Regions from separate parts of the Homo sapiens genome. Here region 1 is linked to region 2. The links are contacts of gene promoters, found by promoter capture Hi-C in blood cells and fetal thymus (Javierre and others, 2016). All regions are on one chromosome and are shown on one strand. The core of a region is centred on a gene start or on the middle of the fragment in contact, and the rest is flanking DNA. Distances in the headings are between cores, read along the strand shown.

Region 1 (5,253 bases), core at 627-3,126, 330 kb before region 2:
AGGGCATCCAAGCATGAGGGGCTGGGTCAGGAGAGGGCGGTCACTCACGACAGGCATCACTGTTGCAGTAGACAGAGGGCACCCAGATATCCGGGGAGCCTGTATCAAACACCAAGGTGAACTTCTGGGGAAGGGTCCCGATGTAGATCTTCCCAAAGTACTGACACTGAAGACAGACGGCACTGGGTCAGAGGTGGGAGCATCAGGGGGCAGGAGGGTGTGGATTAACGGTGGGCGGGGAGCAGGGGCACTTGTGGAGCCCCTGTGCTTTCTGCCCAGAGACCTGGGTGTCTCAAGGAGGGGGAAGATACTGAAGAGGGTTCTTGACCTCCAGCCCTCACCTGGGCTCCCACCCCCAGACACACTTGGCCTCATCCTTCCACAAGTCCTACAACCACTGCTGGAATCAGCCTCAGAAGCAGACCTGGGTCCTAAACTTAAATCCTGCCTGGGTGGGACATGGGCCACCCCTGCCAGGGCAAAAAGAATCTGGACAGAGAGGTGGGGCATCAGCTAGGTGTGGGCTCCATGTTCCGGCCCAAGTGGCCCCTGCCACGCGCGCCTCCTCGCCAGCTCTCCCCACTGTCAGAGCAGAGGCTGGGGGCGGGTGGCGAAGATGACCTAGATAAGAAAATGAGAGCACAGAAGAGAAAAAAGGCTGGTTGTTTACTGGCAAGAGTGACGGCTGAGAGAAAGACAAGCTCCAGGAAAGAACAGGTACCAGGGGCGCTCCTGCCTGGGTCCTGGGTGGGAGGAAGAGCAAGCTGGCAGCCGCGTCCTGGGCAGCTGCAGAATGGCACCCGCTGTCTCCATCCCTGCTGAGCCAGACTAAGACAGAACTTCCCCAGCCCGGAAGGCAGGTGCAGGGTTGGGATGGTAGGCGGCGTTGGGGAGGGGGGCAGTTCATGCACTCTTGGGGGATGTTGTGTGAGGAAGGCGCCTGAGCTCAGACCCTCCTGGTGGTGGCATTCAGAGCTGGCAGGCAGGAGCACTGTCTTTTCTGGGTCGACCAGCCCCTCGTGGAGCTGACTGAGGGCAGGGAGACTGCCTCTACCACAGACTCCAAGATTTCTCGAAGAGAAACAGCTGTGGTGAGGCAGGGGCCGAGGGGCGCTTTCCACTTCGTTAGTGGAAAGGCTGGCAGAGCCACTCACATCCAGGTAGTTGGTCAGAGACTCGCTGGCCACCACCCCAGAGCTGGAGTGCTTCCTGCTGACTGCATAATGGTGATTCCTCAGGAAGTCCTCCAGGAGCCTGCGCTCCTTCAGGGCCCTCCTCAGCGACTTCCCTTTGTGCAGAGGAACCCTGAGGAGATGGGGAAGAATTTGTAAGGAGGGTGTGCATCTCCCGCAGGCTGCCCAGCCTCCCAGAAGTGGGCTCCATAAACCACTCGGTACACTCTGTTCCCAGCCAGCCTTCTGATCAATGGCCCACTGACCCCAGGTCAAGGGCTTTCAAACTTTTTTTAAATCATAACTCAAAGTAAGAAATGTATTTTATATCGGTTCAAAAATCAATGCCTATCCTTGCTAACTGCAATGCACTCTCATATTTTATATTGCTTTCTCTTTTTCTAATGCTGGTGGAGACCCATTAGAGGCATTTTGCAACCCACTAATAAGTTTCGAAACCCGTGGTTTGAAAAGCACTAAGCACATTATCACTCATTCAGTCACCAAATTCTTGCTGTGCCAGATACTGTACAGGGCACAGGGGACACAACACTGGAAAGGACACCGTCTCTGCCCGCCGGGAGCCCACTGTCTGCAGTGAAAAACGGTGTCTCCCACAAGCTGACAAATGCTACGACAATGATCCTGCCCTCTGTCAATACCCTTTCTCCGCTCTCTGGATAGCTTTTTCCCTAAGACGAGTGGAAAATTCTCAAACGGTTTCTCAGCACAGAGCCTGGTCTCACAGGGGCCTCCTGAGGGAGCTCGAGTTTTAGATGATGGAGGCAGATCAACAGTGAAGAGATCAAGAGAGGAAATGCAGAAACTGGTTCTAGACCTGGCACTGCCCTGTCTGTGTCAACTTGGGTGGCTCCCCAAAGCCCTCTGAGTTTCAACTCCCTTAGGTTAACCCCTTCCTTTCCAGCCATTCTCCTGGCCCTGCGTTTGACTAGCCCTATGGCTTAACCTCTCTGGTCCTTAGTTTCCTCTCCTATAGACAGAAGTAGAACTCAGTGATTCCCACAGTCCCTTTTACCTCTAAGAATCACGTGGTCCTCCTCTGTGAGACTGTTGAGATGTGCTTTGAGAGCCATAAATGGCAGCAGTGTTAAAACTCACAGAGAGAATGGATTTTCGCAGGCTGTTCACATCCCAAGTGCTGGGGCAGATAGCGCACCTGGGACCTGGAGGAACTTTATTTTCAGGACTGCCACAAAGATTCCGGGCCAGTTGAAAGCACCCTGACCCCTTTTCTGGGATCCAGCTTTCCCAGGGAGTAATCGGGGCTTCTCTGTGCTCAGGGCTTGACCAGACTCAAACCTGAGCACCTGTAGATTACCACGTGATGTGATGGCAAGAGTGCAAATCCACGGAGGCCAAGTCCTAGCTCCTCCATTACTAGCCATGCAGCCTCGGACAGCTCAGGGACCCTCCTTAGGAACCCTTCCTAAACAACAGTGTCTCATCTGTAAATTGCAAATGATAATATGTACTTAATCCATGAGGATTAGTGGCTTAGTGGAGTGCCTAGCACCTAGGAGCAAACAGCTCAATCAATGTCAGTTATTACTTTGGGAGGAGAACCTGAGATCTTCACCCACAAAGGATTAGTACAATAGGGAACTTTATTTTGTTTAACAAATGCATACATAGCTCTTACAGTGTGCATCGTTTGAAGCATTTTTTAAATATTAACTCCTATAATCCTCACAACATCCCTATGAGATGGACACTACCATTATTCAAATTTTATGAACAGAGGAGGAAACTGAGGCACAGAGAGTTAAGTTAGTGATGGAGCTGGGGATCAAACCCCAGGTAGTTTGACTCCAGAGCCATGCCCTATCCTCCCAGTTGCCCATCTGGCTCCCTGTTCTTTTCACCACACTGTGAAGTGCTGGGGTAAACAGAAGCAAAGGTCCCAGCATGCAAAGGCAAGACTGACAGGGAGCTGTTACCCTGGGAACTTGCAGCACTTCTCCCAAGACTCCCTGGGGGACCAATGGCTGGAAGACCAAGGACAGACCTCCCAGAGAGGACGATGAGATGCCCTTGCCCTCCCCTGGGCTCTGACACTCACCTGGTGATGGCATTGACCTCAGAGAGAGCAAAGACTGCAAGGAATACCACAAGGCCCCTCATCCTGGACTGCAGACTGGCCACTGCTCCAGCCAGAGCCCACTCCACAGCCTTTATAGAGGGAGCCAGGTGTCCTGTGGCTGGAAGCCCAGACTTCAGAGATAGCTCCTGACTGTAGGTCACTCCACAAATACAGTGAGACAACACTCAGGATACCTAAGACCCATGCTGATAAGGACCACTCACACCGAGTGAGGCCATCTGTGGCCCTTATCAGCATGGGGCTTAGGTATCCTGAGTGTTGTCTCAGAATATCTGTATTCCAGGGACTTCAAAGTTGAAGGATATACATGCCTGGTCTTCAGCCTGAGAAATGTCAACATAGGCCTCTCTGACCTGCTCCCCACTTGCAGACGGGACTTCTCGAGCCAACACAGGGGAGGCACTGCCAGAAATGTGTTCCATGTTCCACCTTATGCACTGTAAGAGGCCTGTTCCCCACAGATCCCACTCCAACCTTATCTGCCTCCCCTCCCGTGATCTGACTCCACTGGAAGCTGATAGCCTGCCCTATCCATGAATCTGCCCCCAGCCCAATTTTCTAGTGGCAGGGGTACTCGGTCTTCCCTCAAAGTGGCATCTGCGGCAGAGAGGAATTGTTCATTCTGTCATCCCCGTGAGTGGAGCTTGGGGTTTAGAGCACAGAGCAGGTGTGCCCTCCACTCCTACAGAGCACAGTCTAAGAGAGAAGGCAGGCCCAAGGCACATGCACCCCTAGGGACATAGGCCCTGTTCCACGGTGGAAGGGTGCTGAGGAGGGGAGGGGTAAATCGATGCCAGATCACACTGGCATTGGAAGAACGGGGCAGGGCTGAACCAGGAAGGCAGACAAGTGCCCCCACATAGAAGAAGAAGGGAAATATGGCAGTGATACGGTAGGGAACAGCTTAGGCCAGGACTCAGCCTCTGAGTCCCATTGGAGTGTACAGAGACAGCGCCTCAGAAGCACATGTGCAGGGGATGTGTTGAGTAGAGGCCCCTGGAGTCTAGGCCAGAGATTCTCTGAGGCTTGTAGCCAGAGAGAGAGTCAGGATAAGAAGGAAAACAAAGGATGTGGCCATGAAGCTGGTGGAGAAGATCATGTTCCAAGGACCAGGGGAGGCTAACGCTGGCAAATCAGGACTGTGTAAGGGTAAGGTGGGCAAAATAGGAAGGCAAGGGCTTCAGGTCCATGGGAGAGTGGGAGTGCCAGCTGCCCAATGCCTGGCAGGACAGATGTCCACGTGGAGAAGGAGGCCTGGTGGGGATGTAAGAAAGGGTAGGCAGGAGCAGCCAAAGAGGCTGGCATGTGGTGGCAGCAGAAACACCGGTGCCATGGAGAGGGACAGGCTCTGGAGTTGCATACATTTGATTTGCAGGGGCCTCAGGAGGGAACCTCAGGAGGGAGCCTCAGAAGGCCAGTAAAGAGAACTGATGTTTTGTAACAGAATGAGGAATGTGGTGAGATCTGATCCCCACCATGGCAATGCCTCCCACCCTGCCGCATCCCTTCACAAAGCCGAAGGCCAGGTCCCCAAAAGGCCAGGACACTGCCGCTCCTCATGCCCTGGGAAGTGGCCACAAACACATCCAGCTGTCTTGTGGCACCCACCCTCCCCAGATGCCGGGAGCAGAAATCAAAGTCAACGCTAAATAGCACAACTTGCTTCCTGATTTCTTCCCTGAGGTGGCCGCCCTGCCAGGCGCTGCGCCCTGCCCCATGCTGATGGCCCTGCCTCTGAGCAGTGCTTCCTGCCACACAGCACCAAGCGTAATGCATAGTAGGTGCTCAAGGAATGTTTGGTTAAGCAAATGAATGAGTGCATGGCCTTGCCACTACTTTTGAGAAGCAGCCAGAGAAGTAGCAAGTGACATCCTTATGATATCCTGCAGACAAGGAGATGGAGGCTCAGAGAGGTCAAAGGGTTGGCCTGTAATGAAGACAGAGCTTGGAACTATCCTG
Region 2 (5,389 bases), core at 2,851-5,350:
AAGCACCAAGATGAAGCCTGGGATCTTTTTCTGTATTTCAACCCACCTGGAGCCAAATACCATGTTCCCCAAACCTTGGACGTTTGGTTATGTTTGTTTTCCACCAATTTCCAATTAGTACAGGCCGATTTCCCCTTTTCCCGGGGCACTAACTTAAAAAAACTGGACCCACAGCTCTAGACAATCTTGTTTGGGTAAATGCCTAGGTTGTCAGCATTTATTAAGAATGTATTGCGGAAAAGTATCACATAGAGGTTAGGAACATGAAGTTTGGACTGATAGAGTTCCAATTCTCTAGTTGCCACTCACCTGTGTGACCTTGAACAAATTATTTAACCTCTCTGAACCTTAAATTTTACAATCTGTAAACTGGAGATAGCAATATCTGTCTCCTGGGATTGTGGTGAAGATTAAATGAGATGGTCTGGGAATAAAGCACTTAGCACAGCACAGAAGCCTCAATAAGCAACTGGATATTATCAATTTGTGCCAAGCACAGTGTGAGCCACTGGAATCCAGAACAGCACTCACCCCTCCTAAAAGCATGCAAAGTAGGCATTTCCTTACATATCACTGCCCCACTTGAGTTTGGGATACTGCTCTAGCAATCACATCTACCTATGGCTCTGTGCTTCTGACCTCTGGCAGCCAGCAACATCATTCAGGGGAGGGAAACACAGGGGCTGAGGTGACAGGTTTTTTTTCCCCCATCCTGGTGCTCCAGATGTTTGGCTGTGAGGACTTCTTGTAGCTCAGCCTGGGAGCAAGTGATAACTCAGAGCTAGTTCTAGCAAAAAAGCTTAAATCCATCTTCCCCTTAAACTATTCTGCTGCTTATCTTAGCAGCTTTAAAGGGATTAATGATGAATTGTCCTGCTGCAGCAAACCTGGACAGAAAAGGAGTATAAAGGAAGGGAGGGTACACAGGCAGAAGGAACCTGTTTCTCTGGAATCTTCTCATCTCTGTTTCTGCCATCCTTGGAATTTGCTCCTGGATCCAATGGGGAGGGCATTGGCTACAGAATGAATGGTGAATGCAATGCACACACACACACACACACACACACACACACATTTCCAGTAGCAGATTGGAGTCCCCTGAGCCAGCATGGCTTCTTTCTTGCTGCACTGGGGATCCCCTTATTTCCTTCACTCTTAAGGCACACACATCTTAGCTCAGCACCAAATCTGGACATTTTATAGACGGAGAAAACTAGGGGCCCAGGGTCCTTCAGGAAAACAGGAATCACACACCTCACTTTCCTTTCCAGGAGAGGCCAGTCTCAGCTCTCCTGAACAGTTCTCTTGTAACTTTCAATTCTATTATGGATAGAATGGGTGGGGAGGAGGATGGTAAGACCTGAACAAAGAGAAGTGACCCCTGAAGTCCACCCAGCACGTGCTGCAGCTTGGGACCAGGCTACAGTCAGAAACAACCCCAAGGAGTCAAGGTCTGTGGTGCTGGAGTCACCCCAGAGCTGTTGCAGGTGGCCAAGGGCAGCCAGCAGACCCAGCACAGCTGAACCCCACCCCTACCCCAACACTAATCCTGCTCTTAAGCAGGCTTCCCAATTTAGGGTCTCATGGGGAGACTTGAGGGTTGGAAACAGGTCTATGTGAAGCTGAGTTACAGGTCCTTCTTAATCACATGGGAAGCACCGAACCTTCATGTGTCCCCACAACCCCTTTCATGATGGAGCAGAAGCAATGAGAGAAAGAATTGCCTCTGGTTAAGGCCCATAAGGGAAGGGATGGGGAACTAACATCTAATGAGCACCTGCTGTGTCTAGCACCTGGCTCAAAATAAGCCTGCAGAAATAATATCATAGGCATCCCTGTTTTACAACTGAGGAAACTCTGAGACTCCCGAGGTGAATTGACTTGCCCAAGGTCACCCCACTGGCACATGGCAGAACACTGGGCCCAGTTCTGACCACAATCACAGAGCCTTTCCTTACCCTCCCCTTCACCTCTCCCCATCTCCCTGCCCAGCCCAGCCTGGCCCTGCTCACCTTCCCAAGGAGTCAGAGCTCCAGGACCCTTGCTCAACAGCCAGAGCTCTGCTTAGCTCCTTCAGAGGACTTGCCCACCTCTGCCCAAAACACTTGGGCTCAGGCCATTCCTGCTCACGAGTCCTGCTAAAGAACTCCAATCAACTCACAAACAGCTGACACACGACTCTGTGTGTGACTCAGGCCAAACAAACTCACTCCAATCAGAGCTGGTGGGCACCATTTGCCTCCTGCACTGAGTCACCCTCCAGGCTGAGCTTCAGGGATTCGCTGAAACTCAACCACCTACTTAGCCACAGATGTTCCATTGGAGAAAAATCCGGCAGTGGAGCTAAAGCCTCTGACGGTCCTCGTGGATGAGCCATGGCCAAGGACAATCAGGTGTGACCTCAAAGCTCTTCCTGCCCAGGTGATGGGTCCGCCTCACAGAGCCATGGGATAATGTAAGCACAGAACGAGACACAAGAACTCCCCACTGTTAACCTCAACACACTCTGACCTTGTTCTCCAGACATCAGTGAGCGTGTCCAGCAAGGCCTTAACAGTTAGGCGCTAACTAAAGTTTTGGCCGAATTTTTTTGGAGCCATTACAGGATTGTCTTTGTTCCTGAAGTTCCTGTTAACAAGGACAATGCCCGGAAAAGAATCTTCCTCCTCATTACCACTTCCCTGTCTCCCCAACCCACCCCCATCTGCCTCAAGTTCACAGCTGAATTGCCCAAAGGTAGCTCTGGTTAGAAATCTCGTAATCCAAAAGGCCTGTTAAAGTATTTCTTAAAAAAAAAAAGGAAAGAGGAATGGCATCAAAAAATATTTTCTAAAGCCAACTTGACAGGGCCTAGGTCCTGTAAGGTGAATGGCCTTGGGATTTCTGAATTTGATTTCTGACAGGGCTGTCTGGGCTTTAAAAGGAAACATCACGCTTCTTTCCAAGGCAGCCGCGCCCCTGGGGAGCGGCCCACCCATAGTACTGCGAGCATCCAGCATCGCTTCAGAGCACGGCGCACACAGGCATAAATGCAGCAGAGGCCTCTCGACCCGCCAGGACGGCGCCCCCTCCAGATGGGCACCACACGCACGTCCCCTGTCTCAGCCATTCCGTTCCCCAGATGCGCTTCCCACGAGGGAGGAAGGGCTCTCTGCTAGCTCCGAATCCAGCGAGGACCAGCCCCAGGACTGAGAATTAAATATTCATCTCGGGCGTGACAGTTCTGCTTCGCTTGCCAATGTTACTGTCAAGGTCACAGGCCTGAGGCCGAGCGGCTGGGGCTGGGGTCTCCAGCTGCGTAAGAGGCTCCCAGTGGAACTGCGCCCTGGGCGCGCAGTTTCAAGCCGCGGATGGGCCGGACAGGCCCCCTCCGGTTCTCCGCGGGCGCTTGCCTCCGCAGCTAAGCCCAATTTCCTCCGGAGTTCTTGGGCCCTTCTGAGCACCAGAAGCTGAAGCCCGGTGTCCAACCCGTGCGTACGCCGCTGGGGACCCCGATGCGCGAAGGAGAGCGGGCCCCGGGGCTCCGTCGCCAGGCAACGGCGGCTGGAGCGGCGAGAGGAGCCCGGGACGAGCGCAGGGTCGGGCGGATGCGGGGGCAGCGCCGCCTCACACCTTGGTCCTCAGCCCTCCCTGGCTGGGGCGGGGCCAGAACAGGGAAAGTTGCAGTGGCCGGCCCGGTAAAGCCAGGCGGGGCGCGGCCAGCGACTCACCTGTCACGCGTGGGTAGTCGCGCAGACTCGGCCCGTGCACTCCGGCCGAGCAGCTGCGATCCCCGACGGGTCGCGGACGCACAGCTCCTCCCCCGGGCCACAGGCCCCCGGCTGGGGCTGGGGCGACCCGGAGCTGCGCGCCGGCGCACGCGACTCCGCTCGCTCCTCACTCCCTGCCTCACCACCAGTCCCAACCTGGCTCCCGCCCGCCGCGCGCTCGGGGCTCAGGGGAGCGGCGCGGGGACCCAGGTCCCACGGCGGAGAGAGCGCGCGGGATTGCGAAGACTGGGGCCGAGTGCCGCCCTCCCTGCGCCCTGGCAGCGCCGGCTCTGCGGAGCAGAACGGAGCTGGGCGGAGCGCTGCGCGCACTGTTCCCTCGCTTTCCGAAAGGCCACCCTGGCGGCGGGGCGCCGTGACGCAGGCTTGACTCACGCGCGGGCCGGCGTCAATGCGAGGCTCTCGGGCAGCGAGCGAGGCTCTGATGGCCGACGTAGGCGGAGAGGGTGGGCGTGGGGCGGGAGAGGGAGTTGCAAGGGGGCTTAGCTTCTTGAGGCCCCTGGTCAGGGGATGCAGACCCTGGAGCCCTCGCCAGGGCTTCTGCCCTCGGAGAGGAATGGGGCCCCAATGGTTAAAGCCCTCCTGGACCCTGGGCCTCACTTTCTTCTTTTCAGACTCACCTCTTTTGGCCTTCTTTAATGAACTCAATCTCAATTCATGTGGTTATTTCCCCTGCCCTAGACATTTCCACCTCCGTGCTTCTGTTCCCTTTCCTCTAGATGTCCTTCCACTCCTCCGTCCTTCCATCCTACCATTCTGCAAGGCCGTTCCCTGTGCAGGTCAACTCTTAGGACATCACTCATCTGTTGAGCACCTACTGTATGCCAGGGGCTGCAGAGGCTGAAAGGATCACAGACGTGAGGGAACCTCCTGGAGAGGCAGTGTGGGTTGACCCAGGTCTTTACAGTACAAAGCGAAAGGATTGGAGAACCGTACAAGATGAGTAAAGTGGGGAGACAGTGACAGGGAAATTCTGACTGGTCTCTGAGTAGGCCTCTTGGAAGATCCTGGCCTAAAGGATGGACAGTCAGAAGGGGAGAAGGATGACCCCTGTGGAGTGGACAGCATGGCAAGGGCATAGATGCAAGAGAGTAGAAACGTATGCGTGGGGTGGGGTGGTGGTTGCCTGAGCTGGAGCAGGGGTGGGGATGATGAGAGGTGAAGTTAGACAGGGAGGCAGGAGCCATCCTGCCAGGGCCTTGGGGGGCTGTTATGAGAGTCTGGATGAATTATCTCTCTTCTAGGGAACACTAAGGGGGCCTTTGGCATCCAAGGGAGGTGTTTGGGAGGAATGGGAGATGGAGGTTGTCTTAGTGAAAGGTGGTAAGGGCCATTGTCAAGAACTCTGAAGAGTCTGAGATTTTACACTTACAATCTAAGTTACCCTGCCAGTTTCATGGATGCCATCAGAAGACAGGAAACTCTGGGCCAGACACAAAGGACTTTAATTACTCATGGCACAGCAGGCTGCAAGAGCTTCACATTCAGATCACCTTCCCTTAACTCTGAAGTCCTATGGGTGGGACATGAGACTGGACCACACACACTGAGAAACTCCAAGCTTAGGAAACCTCAATCTTTTATAATGCGCTGCAAGCAAACTTGCCCGACATTTGCCTTAG

Evidence for each region. The method cuts DNA at HindIII sites, captures the fragments that hold promoters and counts their contacts. A CHiCAGO score of 5 or more calls a contact.
Region 1: a fragment that was not itself captured here is called in contact with the fragment with the promoter of SLC6A17 in region 2 in 1 of 17 cell types (neutrophils); the score reaches 5.3 in neutrophils.

What each region holds. Positions count from the first base shown.
Region 1 is chr1:110,478,827-110,484,079 of GRCh38, reverse strand. It overlaps the pseudogene CYMP. Among named protein-coding and RNA genes, the nearest start is that of CYMP-AS1, 8.8 kb to the left of the region's middle. RefSeq lists an enhancer at 223-801. The HindIII fragment of the contact is 7,718 bases long and covers 1-5,253 here.
Region 2 is chr1:110,149,205-110,154,593 of GRCh38, reverse strand. SLC6A17 (solute carrier family 6 member 17) reads right to left here and starts at 4,100. Exons shown (of 12, transcript NM_001010898.4): 1 at 3,711-4,100. RefSeq lists an enhancer at 2,133-2,427 and a silencer at 4,056-4,105. The HindIII fragment of the contact is 4,529 bases long and covers 802-5,330 here.